Regions from separate parts of the Homo sapiens genome. Here regions 1, 2, 3, 5, 6 and 7 are each linked to region 4. Evidence: promoter capture Hi-C in 16 types of primary human blood cells and fetal thymus (Javierre and others, 2016). All regions are on one chromosome and are shown on one strand. The core of a region is centred on a gene start or on the middle of the fragment in contact, and the rest is flanking DNA. Distances in the headings are between cores, read along the strand shown.

Region 1 (3,246 bases), core at 558-3,057, 480 kb before region 4:
ATGGAGCCTCCTGTGGAAGAAGCGTACTTCCTATCCTCTTGATATTGGATTTACCTTAAGACTTGCTTTGGCAATAGCATGTGAGCAGATATGACGGACCCCGTATCCAAGCAAAACTATTTTTTTTTTTTTTTTTGAGACAGAGTCTCACTCTGTCACCCAGGCTGGAGTGCAGTGGCACATCACAGCTCACTGCAGCTTCTACCTCCCAGGCTCAGGTGATCCTCCCTCCTCAGCCTCCTGAGTAGCTGGGACTACAGGCACACACTACCATACCCAAGTAATTTTTTGTATGTTTTGTAGAGACAGGGTTTTGCCATGTTGCCCTGGCTGGTACAAAACTCCTGGACTCAAGCAATCTGCCTGCCTTAGTCTCCCAAAGTGTTGGGGTAACAGGTATGAATCAGCAAAACTTTTAAGAGCCTTTGTGTGTTTCTATCAGTCCTCCTGCTCTTTTCCTTCTTCCTCAAGAAAGGCATAGCCCATTTTAAGCCCCCTTATTTAGCCTCTTGGGATGAAAAGATACAGGGAGCAGGAGTGGAACTGGTACTGACTTTCAGCCAACCTAAACAATAAACAAGAAATACACCTTTGTTCTTATGAGCCATGGTGGTTTCTGGGATCACTTTTTACCACAGGACAGCGACAAATACAAGGAAGAAGATTAATAAGCAGCATAAGGAAAACTGGAAGGAACAGAAATAACGAGGAAAATGGAAAAAAGCCCAAATGTATAAGGAGTAGCCTCAGGATGTTTTGAGAAGATATTGCATCCATAAGCAGATTAGACTGTGATGAAAATGAGTAATCAAACATTTTTAAAGAGTACATAAAATTTAAAATCTTACCTGAAATAAAAATAGAATGGCCGGACTGTACAATAAAATCGGCACAGTAAAGACCAGGTGATCTAGAATGAGGCTTCTCAGCTTCAGGGTGTGTACTAGTCCCGGGGGTCTTGTTAAAATGCAAATTCTGATTTCATACATCTCAAATGGGGCCTGAGAAAATGCATTTCTAACATGCTCTCAGGTGATTCTGATGCTGTTCATCAAAGATTCAGAATTTGAGAACCACTGTTTTAGATTCTTGCCACTCAAAGTATGTAGTAGCTTCCACATCACCTGGGAGCTTGTTAGACATGTGATACTGATCCTCAGACATGCTTTGAGTAGCAAGGATATAGAGGCATGTCTCTCAAATTGTCGGCCCCATCCCATTAGCCTCAGAATCACCAGATAATTTGTCACAAATGCAATTTCTTGGACCCCACTCTAGAACTGCTGAGTCAGAGCCCAGCAATTTATTTTGTAACATGTCTCCAAGATGATTCAAATGCACAATACAGTTTGAGAAACACTGAGTTAGAAACAGTAAAAGGCATCTTTTACAAAAAACATATATGACTAAAAAAACAAAAAGAAAATGTGAGAAAAAAAGTAAAACAACAGATGCTAGACCGTCTGTCAAAAGAAGTCATAGAAGAAGAGAATAGGTACAGTGGAGGTGAGAAGGGAGAAGTTTCTCATAAAACACCAAGCAGGATGAATAAAGTGGGCACACATCTACATACCAGCATATAAATGTGCAAAGGGATAGTTCTAAAATCACCCATATAGAAAACATTTCTTGTTCAATGAATCCCAGGCAATTCACTAACTCTTTTAATTTATGAACTCTATAACTTGAAGCTGGTACTTCTAGCCTCCTACCCAAGATGAGTAACATGGAATTAAAATAAGTAAAGATTAAAACCTCTCAATGTTCCTCCCACCTACTCTTTAAATTACTTTTAAAACTTGTTTGGCAAATTATTTGGTGTTTTTTAGATTTATTCAGGAACACTGGAATAAAACAGGCGTGATGTCAGATAAAAGTTAGAGCTTACATATATTTTTCTTGATGAGGTAAAATTGCTTAAATTATATGATATTTGGGTTTTTTTACCTTTTAAATTTATCTATTATACCAGTTTTTTAAAAATACAAGTAATTTTAATTGCCAGTTGTTAGAGAGAAGCCAATCTAGCTACAATTTCTTTAGCAATTTTGAGTCTAGCAACATAAATATTAAACTATGTATTTACTCTTAAATGCATATATATTACATTTTAAAAGATACAAGATTTTAGACAAAAAATTTAGTCTATGAAGGATTTTATTTTTATAAATTAGAAAAATTGAACATATATTTGTAGGAGGCAGAGGTTACAGATATGTGAGAAATTTTCTTGACCTTTATGCAATTTGACTATGAATTCATTGTGACTCAGTTCCAAACTGATAAGCATTCATTATGCACTTGGAGGCTCTGAGACAGCAATAGTAATGACAGCCACTGTCAACTCGTGGAGCTTACATTCCCCCGTTGAAAGCAAGCAGGAGAACAAGTGAAGAAAGAAACTCACTACAGATAGTGATAGATGCTACAAAGGAAATGAGCAAGGTGCTGGGAGAGAATCAAAAAAGTAGAGGGGCATCCTTCCACAGGAGGTCAGCAGCCCAGGTAGGGTAGAGACCCACAGGATGGTCAGCAGCCTTTCATGCGGAGTGAGGGCAGCTCTGGCAGGAGGAGGAGCAATGTACAAGTCCTGAGAGGGGAAAGAGTTTAGGGTGTCCTGGGAAGTCAACAGACACCAGTGTGGCTGGGGTATATATTAAGTGGCAAGGGAAAGGCACCAGATGAGGTTAGGAAAATAAGCAGGGGCTAGATATGTTCAGGCCTGATGACTATGGTAAGGAGTAATTAAAAGCCATGGAGAGTTTTAAGCAGGAGACATTATTTAATTTCTGTTTTTAAAAGATCACCCTACACACCCATTAGCATGGTTATTATATTAAAAAAAAAAAAAAAACCTGAAACAAAGTAACACATGTTGGCAAAGATGTGGAGAAATTGGAATCTTTGTGCATTGTTAGTGGGAATGTAAAATAGTGTAGCTACTGTGAAAAACAGTATAGCAGTTCCACAAGATATTAAAAATAGAATTACCATATGATTTAGTGATTCTACTTCTGAGTATACACTGAAAATAATTGAAAGCAGGGATTCAGACAGGTATTTGAACACCTATGTTCACAGCATCATTATTTATAATAGCCAAAAGATGAAAACAATCTAAATGTCCATTAATAGATGGATGGATAAACAAAATGTGGTATATACATATATGGGACATTATTCATGCTTAAAAAGCAAGGAAATTCTGATGCATGCTACAATAAGGATGAACTTTAAAAATATCAC
Region 2 (3,412 bases), core at 559-3,058, 380 kb before region 4:
TATGCAGACAAGAGTAAGGGACAAGGAGGGCCTGGGCTGTGCCTGAGCTAGCTTTATTGTCCCTACTGTTAGAAAACTAAAAGAACTGAAAGTAGGCTGGGCTCTGTGGCTCATGTCTGTTATCCCAGTGTTTTCAGAGGCTGAGGTGAAAGAATCACTTCAGGCCAGGAGTTCAAGGTCAGCCTGGGCAACATAGCAAAACCCCATCTCTTCAAAACATTTAAAAAATTAGCTGGGCATGGTGGCATATGCCAGTAGTCCCAGCTATTCAGGAGGATCACTTGAGTCCACAGGTTCAAGGCTGCAGTGAGCCATGATGACGCCACTGCACTCCAGGCTAGACAACAAAGCAAGACCCTGTCTCTAAAAAATAAAAATTTAAAAATAGAAATGAAAGTCAACAACTTATAATGAAGACAAACACCAAAGACCACCATAGAGAAGGGCAACGAGGGCTTCAGGACAGTGCCCAGCCTGGATGTGGTGAATTCCTTCTTTCTCCTTCCCTAAAATGTTTAGAGGGCTATGGGTCAGATTTTAGGGAAAAATGAAAGAATTCATTAAACTAGAGGTTCTGCAAATAGATAACAGGTGTGCCACAAGATATTGATGTTTGTACTTTTTCTCAGTGGTGACAAAACTGAGTCATTTCCAAATTTACAACAGTTGAAATTATGCTTGACAAGTATTTTCGTAAAGGTCTCTCTGAATGTTTCCTAAACACATGAATTCTTATCTTGCTAGTAAGCTTGGATGAATAGCAATCTACAGAGAGCCGTCTATAAGGGCTACGATATGGCACAAGTCCAGGTGTGTAATACAAAATATAATTTTCCTATGTGCTCCATGAGGTACAAAGACAGGTGGCACTAGGTTAAACTCTCGTTTGTTTTTTAGAAGGAATGTGATTTATGACTAAGTTTTATTTACCACAGTGTCCTTGCCACCTAGCAGAGAGCCTGGCACCATAAAAAGTTTACTAAAATCTTGTAGAGGGGAAAAGCTGACTTAAGAGCCCTGGGAAGCTGTTTTAGGGTCTCTAGTGGCCACTTTGTCAGCTGGAGGTCCACTTGGGGGCTGGGGATACCTTCAGTCTGCAGGTTATTTTTGATTCTGAAGAGTTAAAAGGAACTGGAGCAGGGCAGAGAAGAAGGAAAGCTGGCTGCTTGCCAGAATCAAGAGAGAGAAATAAAGGGGATTCCAAAGCTTTCCTTGAGCATAGTTAGCCCAGGCTTTCCAGAGAGGAAAGATGGCTGAGACTCTAGAGGGATCTAACAACCACATGGTGGACAGTAGAGCTCCATGGTATATACACTTCGCTTTTACACATTCACCTATTTCTACTCCACAACAGGGAGTGAGAGAGTGGGGGTGGGAGTGGGGGAGAAGGAGTAAAGAGAGGAGACTTGAAAGAAAGAGAATAAATGGGAAATTGCTACATTGTTTTCCATGCACAAATGGGAGATATATATCCATTGTTCCCTTAGCCATTTGATACCCACATGCCTCTCACAATATAAACATCTTGCTGAACTAATCGCTTCAAACATTTAATTTTTTGTAGAGTAAGGCATCTAAACGTAGGTACTTAATCTAGTGCTAAATTATAGAAACAGAAATCCATTCTAACACTTTGTCAGACTTGTAAGAGACGGTGTGTTGATCTCTACCATGACACCTTCCTAATGGATTTTCAAAGGTTTGACCTCATAGCCTGGGCTTCGTATCTAACCTCAGGAGACATTTGGCATTGTTACATTGCTCAGGGACCTGGTCCTGATGAAGCCCTAATTTTGTTCATTTTTCTCTGAGTAGCTATGTTCTCTTATTGAGGTTACCCTCAGCCCAGGGACTGAATCATGACTGATTCAAGCCATTCATGGTTGTTTTATTCTCTTGCCAGGTAATTGGTTTAAATATGAATGTATAATATAATTCTGTCCAGTTATAAGTGAGGGGAAATCAACTGGGATGATTCTAGAAGGGTTTTCATTATTCTTAAAAATCAAAAAAAGCAAAAACAGGAATATTTCCCCTTTTCTACCTCTGGATATTCTTGTCTTCGTAAGATTACTTGGAACCAAGCAGCCACTGTCAGAATCAGCAAAAGAGGATAACAGAAATAAAAGTGTCTCTGTTGACATTTGAGGCAAACTTAGAATTGCCCTACCTTCAAACTTCTAGGTATACAGTATAGTAAGTAGTCTTATTATTTAGGCCACTTTTTGGTGTGTTTTCCTTTTATTCCTTATAGTCTACGGTAGATTAAATATGTCTATAAATTATTTACTTCTCTTATTGAGCAGTATTGTCCAATTCCTCTCCCCTTGAATCCAGGTGGGCCCTAGTGGCTTGCTTGATCAATAGAATACAATGGGAGACTTATGAGCTCGGGTCATATGAAGCTTTGCAGTTCCCATATAGTCTTCTTTTTATTTACTTATTTATTTTTTTAGAGACGCAGTCTCACTATATTGCCCAGGCTGGTCTCAAACTCCTGGGCTCAAGCAATCCTCCTACCTCAGCCTCCCAAAGTGTTGAGATGACAGGTGTCAGCCACCATGCCTGGCATCCATACAGTCTTCTTGAAAGGCTCCCTCTGAGAGACAGTAGCGGCAATGTAAGAAATTCAACTACCCTTAGACTGTGATGCAGTGAGAAGCCCAAGCCACATGGAGAGGAAACACATAGGTACTCTAGTTGATAGCCCAAGCTGACTTCCTAGCCAGTTTCAAAGACAAATTGCATCAAATAAGTTAAGCAGGCAAGAAAGACTTTATTCAAAACTACTGCAATAGGGAAGAGAGATGGAACTGAACTCTGAATACAACAGTAGTAGCTGGGGGTTTATAGCTAATGGGCAGGATAAGGAAGTCAGTGGATGGAAAATTAATAAGGTGAACTTGACAAACTGTAAAGGTAGAAGATTCTTGCTAAATTCACTTGGCAGGATTCTTGATAAAACTAGGCTGGACAGACCAAGAACAAGAGGCCGAGGATGAGGTCTGGCAAAGAAGACAGCTTGGAGAAGCCTGACTGAAGTTTGTTCAAGTAGGGAGTCCTTGTCACCAACAGCCACATCAACTGCTAGTCACATGAGTGACCATCTGGGATATCCAGCCCAGTCAGGTCTTTAGATGACTCTAGCCCAAGCTGCCATCTCACTGCAACCACACAAAATATACCAAGCAAGAACCACCCAGCTGAGCCCCATCAAATTATAGAATCATGAGTGATATAACAAATTGTTTTAAAACACTAAGTTTTACAGTTTTTTTTATGCAGCAGTAGATAACCAAAGCACAACCAAAAGCATTCCAAGTGATACAAAGATCTAGAAGATATGAACAAATTTCTTTTCACACAAGTATCTTCTGAGGAATTCAAGTGTTGAAGTAACATAATGAAAAGA
Region 3 (3,732 bases), core at 541-3,040, 500 kb before region 4:
ATGACAGTGTCCTCTCTGGTCAGCCTTATTCCAGTCCTCCCCACACCCTTCTCCCCAGTGCAACCACCACCTTCTCGCCAGAGGAATCAAATCACATCACTCCCTTAAACCTTTGGGTGGCTGTCACTATGCCTCCCCTTTGTCACTGTCATTCTTTTAAAACATAATTACTTGTATTTCCTCAACCACACCCCCATTGTGTACTACTACACGCCTTTACAGAAGTGGCTACCGCTTCTTGGAATGGTCTCCTCTTGTCTTCTCTTCTCCTTCTCATGCAAATCCAGTACAAGCATTGCTGCGTCTGAAAGCCTTCCCAGCCAACCCCTCACAGCAGAATTCACCACTGCCTCTTCCAGGAGGCTGCTTTGCATTGCATCCTGTGATAATAATCAGCCCCTAGTTGATTCATCTTTGCCTACCAAGCACATGGCCCAGTGCCTGGCACACAGTGGGCCCTTGCAGAGTGATTACTTGAGAGAAGTGAATTGAATTCACCAGATGCCTAGGTGCAAGCTGCCATCCTGACTACCTATTAGTGAGAGGGCTGCAGGGGGTGGGGAAGGTGTCTGTTCACATCCCTAGCTGGAGCCAAGGAAAAGATCTTCCATCTTTCCTTGAGGAGTGGTCAGAAAATCTAAAGTTAATGATCTGGTGCCTGCCTGGCTGGGACAAGGGTCACAGGAAGGCTGTGCCTGGGGAGTGTGTAGGGCTGGAATTAGGGGATAAGAAAGAAGACAGGATATCCTGGACTGACAGAGGAAGTGAACTCAAGAAAAACAGAGGCCATCAGGCCTGAGTTTTTGAGAGAAAGATCTGGAGTAACGGAGAACCTGGGAAGTGGTAGCACAAAATAATGGTGATGATAACAGCAGCCATAAGCAAGACTGAAATAGAATGTGTGACAGAAGTTCAGAGGTAGCAGGAAGAGACAGTGAACGAGAAGATACAATTGGAAAACCTTCTGTTGATGGGCGAAGAGCCGGCAAGTGGAGAAGAGGGTGGCGGGTGAAATATTTTTGTTTTTAAATCAATAACTTGTCTTAAAATGACAACTGAACTTGCTATTAATTAATTTTCATACTCATCTTTTTTTGTGTGTTTGTTTTTAGTTTAGTTTGTTTTGTTTTTTGAGATGGAGTCTTGCTCTGTCAACCAGGCTGGAGTGCAGTGGCACAATCTTGGCTCAAGGGATTCTCCTACCTCAGCTTCCTGAGTAGCAGGGACTACAGGCACCCGCCACCATGCCCAGCTAATTTTTTGTATTTTTAGTAGAGACAGTATTTCACCATGTTAGCCAGGATGGTCTCGATCTCCTGACCTTGTGATCCGCTCGCCTCAGCCTCCCAAAGTGCTGGGATTACAAGCGTGAGCCACCACGCCCAGCTTCATATTCATCTTTCATAAAAGCTTCTTTGGGAATGATAAGCCCTCATATGACACAACTTGATCCTCTCTTTGAAGTGTCTATGAATTTTTCATGGCTTCCAACATTAATTATATTGTTTTATCATCACTTCTCTTTTTGGAAACACTCCTAAAAATGTTTTAGAATGTGGGCATGGAAAAAAATTACATTATCTTAAATTACTATGAATGAAGAAGGTAAGAACATTCAAGGAAATGGCAAAGAGGGAATTAAATGCAGGTTTTTTCCAGGTAACTCCAGCAAACACTAACAAAGGGATGACTTGAGAAATCAATAATCTGGTTCTTCTTTGCCTATAGAATCAAGTTGGTTCAAAAATGGAGCCAAACGTTTTACATTAAGAACAACTGGCATACTAAAATAATTATTTATAAGTAATAACATGTTAGTCTGAAACTTTAGATACCAGTCCTGACTCTCAGGACTGGGAAAACGCACTTGGCCCAGCTCAGAAGCCACTGAAACACTGTGGGTTTGGCACCTCATGTCAAGCCCAATCCCTTTGCTATTTGAGTTCATTTATTCTTGGCAAAATATAACTTCCTGCCCCTAAGAAGAAAGATTTTTAAAGTCTCATAAAAATGATTCCAAAGTTTACTTGGACTTCAAAAGGCTCTTACAAAACAACATTTTTATTAGTTAAATTTATGGAATATGGTGCATAAGGATTACATTTTCTTTTATCTTAAATAAATAACAATTAGGGCAAAACCAATGGGATGTGGAGTTGGGAGAAGCTTGGCAAAGAAAAAATCCACAGGGGACCACTTTGCCATGAGTTACAGGAAAAATAGAATCTCCAGAGAGGGAGTGTGCTCTCTCTAGGAACTCTAGAACTGGGACGCAGCTCAGTTTTTCTTCAGATCATCAAAGCCCAGCGCTTACTACCAAGGGAGATGTCCTTACACTAAGGTCTCTGTATAATAGCTCACATCAGGTCTGGTCCGATACCAGAAGGCAAAAAGAACCTGATAATGTGTATTGCTGACATCTTACTGGGTGCTCATGTTCTTCAAAAGATGAAAAGACCGAGTTACCTTCTCCAGTAAAGGCTGAGCACCAGCAGGAAGAGCTGAGGTGTGAACAGGAAAGCCCCAGGTCATGAGTCTGCCTATTTTCACAGCCTGGGCAATACCCAGTCTCAGAAAGAAGATCCCAGGAATGTGGCTCACGCCTTCCCAATGCCCACTCTACTTGATTATTAATCTTAGATTTTAAGTGCTGGGTTAGGTTAAAAGTCTTGAAATTTAGCGCACTAGATTTATTTAGTATAATAGATCTTTGTTAACCCAGCATTCATTGTGTGACTTCCTGAAGATGCCAGATTGTTTAGGAAAGCAAAAATCACCATAACATTAAGTGTTTACTAGTAATCTGACAACTTATAAAAATTAGTCCCCACTCCAGGAGTGCTCCTGGCTGGGTCCATCCCCACATAAAGCCAAGGCTTTGTTCATTAATTTTTCCCCAGATAGTCTGCTGTTGGAAATGTTGAACAGTATAGTGCTACATGCTGCAAATTGATATAAGTCTTGCAAAAGATGCAGGCTTTCACGGTGCCAGTGAAAGTGACGTTGGTGGATCTGCTGGAATTGCAGGCAAAGCCATTCCATATCCTGCCCTGGAGGTGTCTAAACAGACAGCTGCAGAGAGGGACTGCCTAGGGCCCCAGGTGTGATCACGGAGAGCCTGTGCCAGCAAGGCTGATGGCTGAGGAGGTGGTGGGGAGGGGAAACTCAGAATTGGTAAGCGAAAGGAAAACACTCAGAATGGGTTGGGAACATCCTGCAGGTACCAGAAAATGAGGATAATGTGAAAAATATAGTGACAATGATTAAAAAATCAAAGGATCTGACTTAAGGGAATTCTCATGGAAAAGTTGTGATAATTCAAATATTAAATAATTATTATTGTTACATTATAATTAAATAAAAATAAAATTAGTGTTAGGTATAAAATAAAAATAGTATTAGGTAATTGGAATGATTTGATCTATGAAAGATTGAGTTCAAAATCAAAGTCAAAGGAGAAAAGCTAAAAGAAATAGTAAAAAAAAGGAAACTTATAATACAAAAGAAGAATGAAAACAGGATTTATGTTTGTCATTATTTCATGAGGTAAGGGATGTATATATGCCTATATGTATACCAATGTACATACATATGCATATATGAATTATATGCACAAATTTTGCTGCTATATTAGTTTATAAATATGTGTGTATATAATATATATGTTCAGGGTAAGTAGAAAAGAAGAATGGACAGAATAATTGGGAGTGAGCTGAACTAACACAGAAATAG
Region 4 (3,359 bases), core at 189-2,688:
ACAAATTCCTTGCCAAATGGATGGAGAGAAATTCTGTGAGGTGATTAGCGGGTCAGGAAGCGTTTTCCCTGGATGTGGTGGTAACCACAAGGACCAGTGATAATGCTTGGGGGATTGATTGCTTTCCGGTTGTGCTTTCTGCAGCGCAAAAACTCTGGGCTCTTGCATTGCTCTTTACTGTGATGCAGGGTCCACTTAAAACTCTGCCTCCCTACCGGGAAAGTTCACACATCTTGGGATTTCGGGATCATTTAAGTCTAGAGGGATTCTTTTTTTACACTTGAGAGTAAGCTGTGCATTTTCTTCATTGTATGGGAAAAGCTAACCCTTCATTGGAAAGCAATGCACAACCATCCGGTGGGTCTGCATTTATCCAGAGTTCTCCCTTCCTCCCTCCATCAACGGTTTAGTGAAGCTTGCAGAGAAAATGAGGGAAAGCATCCATCAGAACGCAAAGACGCAGAGCGGAACTTTTCCTCTGCCGTCAGTGGGGAGAAAAAGTCACTTGTGCGTCTCGTGGCTGACAGCTGAGTCTGGGAACCTCCGGATAAGGAAGGAAGGTTTGGCGTTGAAGGAGGTGGGAGAAAACAATGCTGAGCCCGGATGCCTCCGGACACCGCACATCCTGCCCGGGTCCCTGACCCACCCATCACCCACAGCCACGCTCCCGGTGCGGCGCGGCTTTGCTTACCTTGATGATGCTGCTGCGCCGGGGGGTCGCCCGTGCTGCCTCCAGGAGGCCCGCCTCGCTGTCCGCTGGGGTCCCCGCGGCGCCTGGCAGTGCGACCCCGCTGCGACGGTCCCTCATCCGGCCCCCAGAGGCCGCCGTCACGCAGTCCCCGGCGGCATCCGGGCCCACTCGGGGGTCGTCTTCGCCCCCCGCCGCGTCGGGCGGCGCCGGATCCTCCCTGCCGGCCGCGCCCTCGGCCATGGCCTGGAGCGTTTAGGGCTCCCCGGGGGAAAGCGGGACGCCCGGCAGCGGAGTCCAGCCGCTAGGCACCGGTGCGCTCCTGCACCGGGAGGCGGCCCCGCCAGACTTTGTTTCACCGCCCAGCGGCGGCAGTGGCGGCGGCGGCGGCGGCGGCGGCAACTTTCTGGAGAGGGGACATCGCTCGGGCAGAGACGTCCTCGGGCTTCGGTCTAGGAGGCTAGCAGTCCGGCGGGGGACGGTGGCGGGAGTGGGGAGGCGATGTGAGCGGGAGGCAGAAGGAGAGGCGAAAAAGAGAGGGAGGTATCCGAAATGTGATGCAAACGCCGGCCCTGCGCCAGACAAAAGGCACCGGGCGCCCAGCCAGGCGGCCTCTGGAGCCCGGACGCCGGCGGCCCGATAGGGGCCAGAGCCGGGCGACTGCGGCCGGGCGCACCCGCCACCTGCCCGCGGACTGCGGCGCAGCGGTCCCAGGAAGTGCGGCGGCGGCGGCGGCCTCCACTCAGCTCTGTTGTGACAGGGAGGGAGACTTGTTTTGACAGCCCTTGGGGATTGGCAGGCGTCTGGGCCTCTTAGGAGCCTCGCCTCGCCGAGGGGGCTCGGCCCGACCAATCCTCACTGCGGAGGGGTGTGCCCGAGCGCGAAGAATGGAATGTGTTCTGCAACTGGGAGCCGGCCCAGCGGGGCTAATGTACTCGAGCCAGGGTGTACCCGCGCGCGCGCGTGTGCAAACCCGGAGGCGCTCCGTGTATATTTTAGGAAGTTTAGATTTGCGAAATGAGCCTGAGATGCAACAAAAATCCAGGTTGGGTGAAGGAGAGGGGAGAAAGAAACCTTCTTCTGCCAAACAAAGCAATTTGGAGGAAAGTGGGTATTGAGTATGAATGTCTAAGCGTTTGGGGTGACGGGGTGAAGCTTTGCGTGGTCACAGGTTAATTGCAGGCTCTCAGGCCAATTCTTAGAAGTCAAGTCCATGCAGAGATAAACTAGGGTTTACTGGGATCTTGGGGTTCCATAATTTGCTTCAGGTTCCAGGAAAGGATTCTAAGGTCATTCTGCAGTGTGAGTAAATATAACAAGGAAAGGGAGTCAGTGAAAGAGATGAGGGTGAAAGGAAACTGAACCAACTAAATCCCTCCGAAGACTGACTCTTAAAAAGCACAGATATAATCCAAGTCAGATAAATGCAGGTGGGGAGTTTAGTCTCTATCCTAAAACATTCCTATTTGACAATGGTTCAGCCTCCTTTCTCTATATAATCCTATATAAAAACATATTTTGCTCATTTCCAGTAAGCTAGCAACCAAGAAGGGAGAGATCTTTGGATGATGAGTTAAGTCACTGAAATTATCCACAGAATGCTCAGATGCAAACCATGGTCCTAAGGCTCCCTGGTAAGACAAAAGACTTGGCATTTTAATTTTAAACTCCTTTGATATTAGAATCTATATTAAACCTCACTTATAACATTACATTTTATCTTATTAATAATTTAATAATTTGAGATTTTACTTGTTCCTTAGTCTGGCTAACAGCATGAGAAATTATTCAGCATTTTAGACCAACAATTTGGTTTGAATCTCATAATTTTAGAGATATATGGGGATTTAGGGATCAACTAGGACATCATTTTTGTTTTACGGTTGAGACAAAGGCCCAGGGAGTCTTGTCTACTAGTTAGTGCAGGAGCCAAAATTAGAATCAGCCACCCAACTCCTCCGATAATCTCTTCACTACTTTATCTGTCTCCTCTGGGCTACAACCAGCCAGAACTGGCAGGGGCACTTGGGAGGTTTCAGATTTGACATTTATCAACTACTAGGGAATACTGAGAAGGCTTGACTTTGCCTTTTCTTTAAACATAAATGCAGCCTAGTAATGAATGTACTGTAGAGAGTAGCAGTGACCTCTGGTTTTAGAACCAACACCACCCTCTAGTGAGATTCTGAGAACTGCATCCATAACAGCAAAGGCTTCTTTTTCCCCCTCATCTTTAAAAGACAGGAGGGGTAACCCAACAAAAGTTTCCTTTTCAACAGGTATGCCTTTACAACGCACAGACTAGAGGAAGAAAATAAAGTGTACCCAGACTTAAAACAACCATACATGTCTTCCATCTCCTTTAGTTCAGGGAATTCCTGTCTATGCTATATAGGAAATATTTTTAATTGCTATCCTCAGAAATATATCTTATTTTAGGCTATCATTTTTTTCTTTGATATTCAACTATTATTACATTTGACTTCTGTCATTTACAGTTGTCAGTGCTTCATTTTTCTTTGTTACTCTAATAAAAGTCCCATTCTTCGGTTGTCCTCTGAAAAATGTAAAACTGCCTTTATCTCACTCATTATCTTGTTATAGGATATTAATGTCATTTATAAGTTCCTCATCCTACAGATTTGTGTACCATTATGATAATAATTTATTT
Region 5 (3,511 bases), core at 802-3,301, 420 kb before region 4:
CCCACTCCGTGTCCAATATTTACAGGGATGTTTGCTGTAAAAGTTTATGAGGCAACATGGCAAAGACTGGCTCCATAAGGCAATTTAACAAAGAGAATGGACCATGGAACAGCATAGCCCTGGCTCTACTACACACAAATTTCAACATTGTGTCCTATAAACCTAATTAAAATGTTTTTGCTGGTCTCCTAAACAATTTGTTTTACTTTGGACCATTCTATTGATATGGAATTTTTTTTTAAAGACAGGGTCCCAAGTCTTTCACCAGGCTGGAGTGCAGTGGCACAGTCACAGCTCACTGCAACCTCAGTCTCCTGAGCCCAAGCTATTCTCCCACCTCAGCCTCTGGAGTAGCTGGGATTATAGTTGCACACCACCACACTTGGCTAATTTTTTTATGTTTTGTAGAAACAGGAGTCTCATTATATTGCCCAGGCTGGTCTCAAACTCCTGGGCTCAAGGGATCCTCTTGCTTTGGCCTCCTAAAGTGTTGGGATTATGGGCGTGAGCCATCATAACCGGCCTTGATATAGAATCTTAACAGTGGCCATACAGCGGGGCCTCTTTGCAAGATGACTGTATCTTATTTTGCAAACATATCTCATAAGTAGTCGCTTGTATTTATCATTTTGATTCTGAATATTAAGCATTAAGTAAATACTTGCCATAAAGTAACAATGAAGCAGAGATCAAAGATTATTCCATAGCATAAGCATGGGATAATCAAGTTAAAGGTGGGATAAGGATCAAGGATTCTCCACAAAGCAGTGTACAGAGACCTATGGAAAGCAGGCTGAGAAGTTAGTGAAGAAATTTAAAATGCCTTAGAAATATGATAGCTAGCGCCTATAGGTCCACTTTTTTTAAATTTTTAATTATGGTAAAAAAAACATATACACACAACATATAATGGACCATCTTAACTGTTTTTAAGTGTGATGTTTAGGAGTGTTAAAAACATTGACATTATTGTATGACAGATCTCCAGAACTTTTTTATCTTGCAAAACTGAATCACCGTACTTATTAAGCCAACTCCCTATTTTCCTCTCCCCCCAGCCCCTGGCAACCACCATTCTATTTTTTGGCTCTCTGTGTTTGACTATGTTAGATGCCTCATATAAGTAGTATCATATAGTATTTGTCTTTTCGTAGCTGGCTGATTTCACTTAGCATAACGTCCTCAGTTTTAATCCCTGTTAGAGCACGTGGTGGGATTTTCTTCTTAAGGCTGAATAATAATCCACTGTATATATGTACCACATTTTTTTATCCATTCATCCATTGATGGATATTTGAATATGCCCTCTAATTTTCTAAAATTCAGCATAAAGTATTTTAGGAAGTGTGTCAGTTATGATGCTATTATTTCTCAGCTTCAAACCAACCCTTCTATAAACTATTTCAGGCTATTGGACCTGAGACTCTGTGAATCCCATTTCTGCTTTGCAGGCTGACTCCCTGTTAGGTTTTGTCAGTAAGGGGGCGCAGGAAGAGTGCTACTGGGGGAGAAGGAAAGCACTGTCTCCTTGACCCTATTGCTTTTTGTACTCTTGCAGTTCCTGTGTCACCCGTGCAGTATACTGCACCAAGCAGGGCAGTTCCCTTCCGTGCAGTAGCAGCAGCTCAATGCAGTTTGCAGTTTTTCTAACACTTGCAGAGCCAGCCTTAGTGTACCCCCATCAGCGGACCAGGGTCTTTCCATCTGCCTGACTTTTACCTGTACAGGTCTCTCCTCCAAACTTCTGCCTTTCAGAAATTTCAACCTGTACCTTTTGCCCCCAGCCTTAGTGGAGGGCAGTAGCCTCTGAGATGGAACGGTGTTCTCTTTTTTCCTTTCCAGTTATCTTTCCATATGATTCTCTATATGAAATTCACACTGTCCAAATAACTTGTCTGGTTTCTCCCTCCTGACTCACCCAAACTGATAAATTATGCAAACATGCCACCTGAAATTCTCAGAACCTTCCAGAAAGCAAGAACAAGCCTGAGTGTAGCCAAATAACTGAACACATCTGTTTAATCATTCATAAGATGAAAGTGAAGATTATGGCACAGTGTGGTAAGCCTTATTAAAAGGAAATGCAGGTTGTTATGGGAAGTCAGACGAAGGGCTCAGAGACAGAGAGCAGTCAAAGACAGCCGAGGGAGGCCACCTTGCACCTATGCAGGAGTCAGAGTTCAGGACGGGCTGGGGACGCTTCAGGTCTGCACTCTCCACATCCAGATAGGAGGTCTGCACCATCTAGTGCTGCTTCTGCACTCTGCCGTCCCTCTCTAGGTGATTCTCTGTGGTCATCCCTGAAGTTACAAAAAAAGTGTGTGTGTGTGTGTGTGTGTATGTGTGTGTTCTCCTGTCTTCTTTACATTCTGAGTTCTACAAGACAGCAACAAGAACAACAAGGAGACTTTTGTCCTATCTTTATATCTCTTCCAGCCCCTGGGGGATGGGGGCAGACAGAGGAAACTTGAATAGACAGTCTAGGTCTCTGTGTGCTACAAAAATTCATTCAGATGGGAGGTGTGGATGAGCAATCACAGGGACAAATCCACAGGTGCTCATCAGAATAATAACGACATTTCCTACAGAAGGGCTATGTGCCAGGCATTGCCCTGATTGCTTCATATCCATTAACTTCTATTTTTCAAAAACATTAATATCATTATTATCATTACCACCATCTTACTGATGCTCAAAGAAATTAGACTCAAAGAGAGGTTAAGGAGCTTGCCTGGCCTCACACATGCAGGATTTGAACTGTTTTCTCTGACGCAAGAGGTTGCAGTGTTCTCTCTACTGCCCCTGCTACTGCTCATTTTTATTTTTTTTATTTTTAAAATTTTCTGTTTTTTTTTTTGTTTTTTTTTTTTTTGAGATGGAGTCTAACCCTATTGTCCTGGCTGGAATGCAATGGCACAATCTTGGCTCACTGCATCACTGCAACCTCCACCTCCCTGGTTCAATCGATTCTCCTGCCTCAGCTTCCCAAGCAGCTGGGATTACAGGTATGCACCACCATGTCTAGCTAATTTTTTTTATTTGGTTTGGTTTGGTTTTAGAAACAGGGTCTTACTACATTGCCCAGGCTGGTTTCAAACTTCTGGGCTTAAGGGATCCTCCTGCCTCAGACTCCCAAAGTGCTGAGATTACAGGCCTGAGCCACCGCACCCAGCCTACCCACCCATTTTTATAAATGAAAATAATTTTAATAAAGTATTCTGTCTACTGATTTATCTTCTATTCTTATACTGTTTTAGATATAATGTTTAAGAAATTTTTTTAAACCCTGCTGTTGGCTTTTAAATATAAATTGACTCTTGCTTGACAGTAGAAACTATTCAGTTTATGATAGTATGTATAAATATAAAATTATTTTTACATTAAACTTTTGGGAGTTAGACTAATAGAGATATTCTGGAGAGTAACATTCTGGCAGTACGTAGTCAAAAAAAAAAAGTGTGCACATACCCTATGACCCTACTATCCCTCCCTCTGGGTATCCATCCCACAG
Region 6 (3,681 bases), core at 733-3,232, 400 kb before region 4:
AGGAGCTCAAATATCAGGCATCAGCAACAGATCTTACTCTCTTCATCCTTTAGGTTTACTGCTGTATATTGGCTTTATTCCAAGGCAAGTCCTCTACTCACAGAATGGAACTCCAAGCTGATAGCCAATAATCTCAGTAACCCCAAGAAAGAGCCACTCTTTCAAAACAACTTCACAAAAGTTCCAGATTAGTTCTGACTGAATCAATTTAAGTCATGTGTCCTTCCATAAATCAAAGCCCTCTAGATCCACATGGAACGCTATAAATGGGAAATAAAAAGAAGGAGCCATGCAAATTCTTTGGCAGCATCATTCCTGCTGGGCAGGTACCAATCCAGGAACTGGATGCTGAAAAAGGATACAACTTACTCTGCCCTCTATGTGAGTAAAGGTTGAACAACTTGCGAGGGTGATTCCACTCCCTACTGCCCCTGGATCCTCAAGCAAGGCCTCAGTAATGGAGGCTAAATTTTGCCTGTTGGCTAAGTTGTCTTAGATGATAACTTGGAGGAGAACTGCTTTCCAAAGAAAGTAAGTGACCTGCCTGAGGAAGGTTCTATTAATTTGAGAGTTGTTTGTTTGTTTGTTTGTTTGTTTAATGCTTGGGTGGGTAGCATTATTATTTTTAAGCCTTTAGGTTCAACTTACAATTTCTTTAAATTGTTATGAATCTAATAATTGTTATATTGTTAAATTAAATAAGCAGGAGGCCATTGGCCCAAAGTGTTCTCCATACTTTGAGTTCCTATGTAACAAAACACAGCTAACATAGGATGTAAACAAACTGAAAACCTAACTGAGGAGTATAACAAACAACAGAGTCCAGCCAGTGAGCAGCTGAGCCTCAGCCAATCACAGGCAGCCAGGTGATCAGACCATATCCAAAAAGGCAAACACCTAGCTTAAGCAATCAAGCTATTTCTGTACTATATTTCTATACTTTACTTCCATGTACCATCTGTAAACACTCATTGTGCACTTTGCAGAGCAGAGCTCTCTGAACCTCTTCTGATTCTAAGTGGTGCCCAATTTATGAATCATTTTTTGCTAAAATGTTAAATTTGTCAAAAGTTTTCCTTTTAACATATTAAAGTTTCACATTTGATCAATAATAAATTAACTGACAAGGCAATTTATAAAAAAGATACCTACCAAGACTAAACCAGGAAGAAATTGATTTCCTGAACAGACCAATAACAAGTTGAATGAGGAAACTGAATCAGTAATAAATAACCTAACAACAACAACAAAAAGCCTAGGACTTGATGGATTCACAGCTGAATTCTACCAGATGTACAAAGAAGAACTGGTACCATTCCTACAGAAGCTACTCCGAAAAATTGAGGAGGAGGGACTTCCCCCAACCCAGTTCATTCCGTGAGGTCAGCATCCTCCTGATACCAAAACCTGGCAGAAACACAACAAAAAAAGAAAACTTCAGGCCAATATCCTTGATGAACACTGATGCAAAAATCCTCAACAAAATACTTGCAAACCAAATCCAGCAACGCATCAAAAAGTTTATCCACCACGATCAAGTAGGCTTCATCCCCAGGATGCAAGCAAGTTTGGTTCAACATACACAAATTAATAAATGTGATTCATTGCATAAACACAACTAAAGACAAAAATCACATGATTATCTCAATAGATGCAGAAGATGCTTTCGATAAAATTCAACATGCTTCATATTAAAAGCTCTCAATAAATTTGTATTAATGGAATATACCTCAAAATAACAAGAGCCATCTATGACAAACCCACAGCCAACATTACACTGAATGGGAAAAAGCTGGACGCATTCCCCTTGAAAACCAGCACAAGACAAGGATGCCCTGTCTTACCAGTTTTATTCAACATAGTATTGGAAATCCTAGCCAGAGCAATCAGGCAAGAGAAAGAAAGAAAGTACATTCAAATGGGAAGAGAGGAAGTCAAACTATCTCTGTTTGCAGACGACATGATTCTATATCTACAAAACCCCATATTCTCGGCCCTAAATCTCCTTCAGCTGATAAAGAACTTTATGAAAGTTTCAGGACAAAATCAACAACAAAAATTACTACCATTCCTATACACCAACAACAGCCAAGCTGAGAGCCAAATCAGAAAGGCAATCCCGTTCGCAATTACGACATAAAGAATAAAATACATAGGAATACAGCTAATCAGGGAACTGAAAGATCTCTACAATGAGAATTACAAAACACTGTTCAAAGAAATCAGAGAAGACACAAACAAATAGAAAATCATTCCATGCTCATGGATAGGAAAGATCAGTATCATTAAAATGACCATACTGCCCAAAGCAATTTACAGACTCAATGTTATTCTTATCAAATTACCAATGATATTCTTCACAGAAGTAGAAAAAACTATTTTAAAATTCATATGGAAACAAAAAAGAGCCCAAATAGCCAAGGCAATCCTAAGCAAAAAGAAAAAAGTTGAAGGCATCACATTACCTGACTTCAGACTATACTACAGGGCTATAGTAACCAAAACAACATGGTGCTGGTACAAAAAAACAGGCTCATAGACCAATGGGACAGAATAGAGAGCCCAGAAATAAGGCCACACACCTACAAATACCTGATGTTCAACAAAGCTGAAAAAAACAAGCAATGGAGAAAAGACTCATCTCCACTAGTGCTTAAATATTTTTGTTGTTAAAAATGGAGAGGATTTACCGTCTCAACAAAACTGAGGTGGTTGGGTGGAAGGCCTGGGATGGTGATAGGTGCCTTATCTGTCAAAAGTTCTAGGCCAGGACATGGGATCTGAGGTAAATTACAGGATGAGTCTACTTAAGCCACAGGTGAATACTATGAGCCCTTTTCTCATAGTTATTCACAATCTGTGATGTCAATGAGCAAACCTAAGTCCACACCTTTTAGTTAAAATGTATTTTGCCAACCAAGTCAATATGCAAGGTATCTGTCAAGTTTTACCTTTACCAGTGTTTGCTGTTCCATTTGGGTAGAATTCTGGGCTTCTTTATTGCAAAACTTTATTTCACCACTATCTGTTTATTGAACAATAAAATTATATATTCTTTTCATATTCACTTGCCTGCTTATGGTCATTCTATTGACAGTTATGAGTGCTTAAAAGAGAAAGAGAAAAAATGCAGAGCTGGAGGTAACTGTGCTGTCCTTCTCATTCTCCCTCATGTCTACTAGGACCACTCTAGTAGACATGGGGTAGGGGGTGCAGAAAGAGGCAAACGTAGCTCTACCCAGTAATGAAACACTGCCAATGTCCTCTGTACCTTGATGCTTGTGGTGGTCCCAGCCTGCCCACCTGCTTCTCACTTGTGTATGTACTGTCCAAGAAAACCTGCCTTGATTATTCAGACCTCAAACAACCGTTTGCTCAAGACATAGAGGTATAAACATGTGAAAATTATGATAACTACTAGAAGACCTAAAAACAGAGAGGGCGGGTTAAATTGGAATACAGAAGGATTACAAATATTTTAGTTCATTTTATGTCCTACATGTCATTTTCCCCATGGTTAGCATATAGTACATAAATAATAAAAAGCTCCAAGAGGGTTGATACAAAGTCAGTTTTGTTCACTGCTTTATCCCCAGTGATTGGCCCACAGCATATGCTGAATGGGTGAAAGATTGGGTGGATGAATAGGTAATGAGCCATTCACACAGTGAAACACCACAC
Region 7 (3,722 bases), core at 408-2,907, 460 kb before region 4:
TGGTCTCAGTGAATTGATGGCTGTGCAGCAGACAGGAAAAGCCCACTGGGTGATTACAGCTGAGCAAATGGCAAAACTGGGATCCAAACATAGTGGCATTCATAATCTTCCTCTTAATTTCCAGGCTAGAGCACCCAAGCAGAGAAGGTGCCTATGGAGTATATGAAAATCGCCTGTATTCCTTCTGTACTTAACATAGGACCATAAAGTAGACTGCTAAAGCAATGCGCCCATAGTAGGGGTAGTGTTAGGACTATCTAGGGTTTCAAAACTGTTGAATCTGAATACCTTTTGATGAGCAGCAGCCTCAAATTCAGCCACAATCACCATCTCTCCCTGATTTTTGTATTTCCCCCATCCTCACTCCCTTCAGGCATTTATGTCACCTGCCTGACCTAAGAAAGCAATGGAATTTGCAACCCCAGTTTCAACTTAGATAAAGGCCAAAACTACTTTAATCTTGTTCACAGTTATTTCCCAGTGCTTAATACAATCACTGACACATGGCAATGTCTGGTCATCAAAATAGGATCCAGTTAGAAGTGACAGTGAGCAAACAGGGTCAGAGAAATTATAGTTGCCTAGTATCAGAAAGTCAGAAGGGAGCAGACTTAGGACTCTTTATCCTCAGACTCCAAAGCCCATGTTTTAAAAGCTCACTACAATATGATGTGGAGACGATGTTTCATTCTGTCTGTTTATAGTTTTGGTTGGTTATTTCAAATAAAGCTGTGATATATAAATAAAAAAGAGAGATTGGCTTAGGAGAATAACTTATCTTTTGACATAATGAATCAAACTTTACAAAATGCATTGGTACCAGACACAGTGGCGCTGGCCTGTAATCCCAGCACTGTGGAATGCTGAGGCAGGAGGATCACTTGGGCCCAGGAGTTCAAAACCAGCCTGGGAAACATAGTGAGATCCCTTCTCTACAAATAATTTTTTAAAATTATCTGGGCATGGTTGGCACATGCCTGTGGTCCCAGCTACTCAAGAGGCTGAGATGGGAGAATTGCTTGACCCTGGGCGGTTGAGGCTGCAGTGAGCCATGATCATGCCACTGCACTCCAACCTGGGTGACAAAGTAAGATCCTGCCTCAAAAAACAAAACAAAACAAAAAAACACATTACTGTCATATGTGGCATCTGGGGCCAGGAGAACTCTGCATAGTTCTATTCTCTAGGAACTTATCTCTAGAGAAGCTGACTTGGATCAGTTAAAATCATGAGCTATCCCAATCATGAATAAAGTTTTGCAAAATAAGGTTAACAAGTCCTATACCCATAAGATTTCAAAGATTGGAAGTCTATGCAGACTTCCTTATCTGTGTGCACTTTCTTCAGACAACTGGCCTATGAAGGAAATAGATGGACAATAAACCAAGCCACAGACCAGATAATTACCAGTTTGCCAACCTCGATTATGATTTATTAGACAAGAAAGTATAACAGTGCTACTCAACTATTAAACAACCTCTGATTTACAAATGTCATTGTTCTGGCCTAACAGGCATTATGGGATGGGATGAAAAGGGAATAGTGATGAAGTTAATGGAGGTTCTACACATTTTTCAGGAAATCACACAAGAACTTGCAGCAAAATAATAAGTTATAAAGTTATCAAGATGGATGTAACACAGAGATAAAATGGTATACGTTAACAAGGGCCAGTGGGCTTTCCCCAAAAGCCTTTAAAATAGTGCATGCAACAGATTTAAACCATTTTAATCACAGATTCTGGCATATTGTTTAAAATAACACAAGGCCCAGCACGGTGGCTCATGCCTGTAATCCCAGCACTTTGGAAGGACAAAGCAGGTGGGTCACTTGAAGGCAAAAGTTCGAGATCAGCCTGGCCAACATGGTGAAACCCCATCTGTACTAAAAATACAAAATTAGATGGGTGTGGTGGCACGCACCTGTAATCCCAGCTACTGGGGAGACTGAGGCAGGAGAATCTCTTGAACTTGGGAGGCAGCGGTTGCAGTGAGCCAAGATGGCGCCACTGCACTCTAGCCTGGATGACAGAGTGAGACTTCTTCTCAAAAGAAAACAAAACACAAAATATAAATTTAATGGAAATTAGGTCTCTCTAATAGAATGTTCTACTTTGTAGCATTTTTCAGAAATGAAATTATTTAAACAGTAATTTTAATTTCCTCTTGTATGTCTGTTTTCTTTATTGACAGAGATCCCCAATCCACATGCCCCTTCCTTCTTAGCATCAGAACTCCAGTTTTCTTTGGTTCAGCAACGCACTTAGCTACAAGGCTGAAGTTCCAGCTTTCTTTGCACCTAGGTATACCCATGCAGTTCAGTGGTCAGATATATAAATTGAACTCCCATGTGGAACATCTGGGAAGGCTGCTTATGGGAACTGACTCAGCTGGGAGAAGGAATATTTTGTTCTTTCATCCTTTCTCCTTTTTTGAGATGGAGTCTCACTCTATCCTCAGGCTGGAGTGCAGTGGCACCATCTCAGCTCACTGCAACCTCCACCTGCTAGGGTCACACAATTCTCCTGCCTCAGCCTGCAAAGTAGCTGGGAGTACAGGCATGAGTCATCACACCCGGCTAATTTTTGTATTTTTAGTAGAGACAGGGTTTTACCATGTTGGCGAGGCCGGTCTCAAACTCCTAACCTCAAGTGATCCGCCAGCCTCAGCCTCCCAAAGTGCTGGGATTATAGGAGTGAGCTACTGTGCCCGGTCCCTATCTCCCTTCTTTCTTGCAGCTGGCACAAACCGAATGTTTAAGATGCAACTAAGACAGTGGGGCAGGAAGAAGGAGACCAGGGAGATGCCAGAACAGCCCTGAATTCCCTAACTCCAGACTCCCTATTTCTGGGAGAGAAAGAAACCTTACTATTTAAGCTAGTATTATTTCTTAATCGCCACAGCTGAACCATATCCTAAGTGATAGACCACAGGGATCATAATCTCCAATATCAAGATACAATATGTCCATCCTGGCCAACATGGTAAAACCCCGTCTCTACTAAGAATACAAAAATTAGCCAGGTGTGGTGGTACATCCTGTAATCCTAGCTACTTGGGAGGCTGAGGCAGGAGAATTGCTTGAACATAGGAGGCAGAAGTTGCAGTGAGCCAAGATTGCGCCACTGCACTCCAGCCTGGGGACAGAGTGAGACTCAGCCTCAAAAAAAATAAAATAAAATAAAAATAAATAAATAAAATATGTGTTATAATTTTTTTGGAGGGGGTGCATTTTCAAAGTGGTGACTGCTAATCTTTATATCATTTAAATTGATTTAAAGTGGTTTGATTCTAAACTCACTGAAATCTCTCCACAAATAGTAGTTTAGCAAATCAACAACCTCATCTGGCAGACTGGGCAGAATAACCAATTCATTCCTAAAGATATGCATCAGGTTTCTTCTTTGTCACTATACTGATTTCTGACAAAACGAAAATCAGAAAAGTCTGTGAAGAGAACTCTATGGGTTTCTCCATTAGCAAATGAATCTGTCTACTAATCTTTCTAATCTTTCAAATTCAGACTCTGCAACTTTACAAAATTGCAGGTTTTAAAAATTTGGAATGTATATTAGTATACCACCACTAACAACTTTTAGAATACACAAACTTACAGAAGCATAGTCAGTTTTTCTAACATTAATTTACTCAACATGTTCCATCCTTTGTGAAAAGTCTATTTAAGACTGGAAACTGAGTCAGTCAACATAGAAAAGGTCCCCC

The links. Contacts are between HindIII fragments. The CHiCAGO score rates a contact against its expected background, and 5 or more counts as called.
Region 1: a contact is called between a fragment that was not itself captured here and the fragment with the promoter of PLCL1 in region 4, in 14 of 17 cell types (M0 macrophages, M1 macrophages, M2 macrophages and 11 more). The highest score is 26.5, in M0 macrophages.
Region 2: a contact is called between a fragment that was not itself captured here and the fragment with the promoter of PLCL1 in region 4, in 5 of 17 cell types (M0 macrophages, M1 macrophages, activated CD4 T cells and 2 more). The highest score is 9.7, in M0 macrophages.
Region 3: a contact is called between a fragment that was not itself captured here and the fragment with the promoter of PLCL1 in region 4, in 17 of 17 cell types (M0 macrophages, naive CD4 T cells, M1 macrophages and 14 more). The highest score is 52.3, in M0 macrophages.
Region 5: a contact is called between a fragment that was not itself captured here and the fragment with the promoter of PLCL1 in region 4, in 1 of 17 cell types (M0 macrophages). The highest score is 5.6, in M0 macrophages.
Region 6: a fragment that was not itself captured here is called in contact with the fragment with the promoter of PLCL1 in region 4 in 2 of 17 cell types (M0 macrophages and M2 macrophages); the score reaches 8.8 in M0 macrophages.
Region 7: a contact is called between a fragment that was not itself captured here and the fragment with the promoter of PLCL1 in region 4, in 5 of 17 cell types (M1 macrophages, M0 macrophages, activated CD4 T cells and 2 more). The highest score is 12.4, in M1 macrophages.

The regions. Positions count from the first base shown.
Region 1 is chr2:198,281,367-198,284,612 of GRCh38, reverse strand. No RefSeq gene overlaps it. Among named protein-coding and RNA genes, the nearest start is that of LINC01923, 92 kb to the left of the region's middle. The HindIII fragment of the contact is 6,399 bases long and covers 1-3,246 here.
Region 2 is chr2:198,184,211-198,187,622 of GRCh38, reverse strand. No RefSeq gene overlaps it. Among named protein-coding and RNA genes, the nearest start is that of LINC01923, 190 kb to the left of the region's middle. The HindIII fragment of the contact is 1,199 bases long and covers 1,209-2,407 here.
Region 3 is chr2:198,303,838-198,307,569 of GRCh38, reverse strand. The region is part of intron 2 of LINC01923 (long intergenic non-protein coding RNA 1923); the gene reads left to right. Among named protein-coding and RNA genes, the nearest start is that of LINC01923, 69 kb to the left of the region's middle. The HindIII fragment of the contact is 756 bases long and covers 1,413-2,168 here.
Region 4 is chr2:197,802,672-197,806,030 of GRCh38, reverse strand. PLCL1 (phospholipase C like 1 (inactive)) reads right to left here and starts at 1,438. Exons shown (of 6, transcript NM_006226.4): 1 at 692-1,438. The coding sequence starts at 931. It overlaps LOC105373828 (a long non-coding RNA gene), which reads left to right and starts at 1,485. Exons shown (of 4, transcript XR_001739850.3): 1 at 1,485-2,322. RefSeq lists a silencer at 1,262-1,391. The HindIII fragment of the contact is 1,428 bases long and covers 418-1,845 here.
Region 5 is chr2:198,223,787-198,227,297 of GRCh38, reverse strand. No RefSeq gene overlaps it. Among named protein-coding and RNA genes, the nearest start is that of LINC01923, 150 kb to the left of the region's middle. The HindIII fragment of the contact is 4,801 bases long and covers 1-3,511 here.
Region 6 is chr2:198,205,745-198,209,425 of GRCh38, reverse strand. No RefSeq gene overlaps it. Among named protein-coding and RNA genes, the nearest start is that of LINC01923, 170 kb to the left of the region's middle. The HindIII fragment of the contact is 7,841 bases long and covers 1-3,681 here.
Region 7 is chr2:198,263,336-198,267,057 of GRCh38, reverse strand. No RefSeq gene overlaps it. Among named protein-coding and RNA genes, the nearest start is that of LINC01923, 110 kb to the left of the region's middle. The HindIII fragment of the contact is 5,198 bases long and covers 1-3,722 here.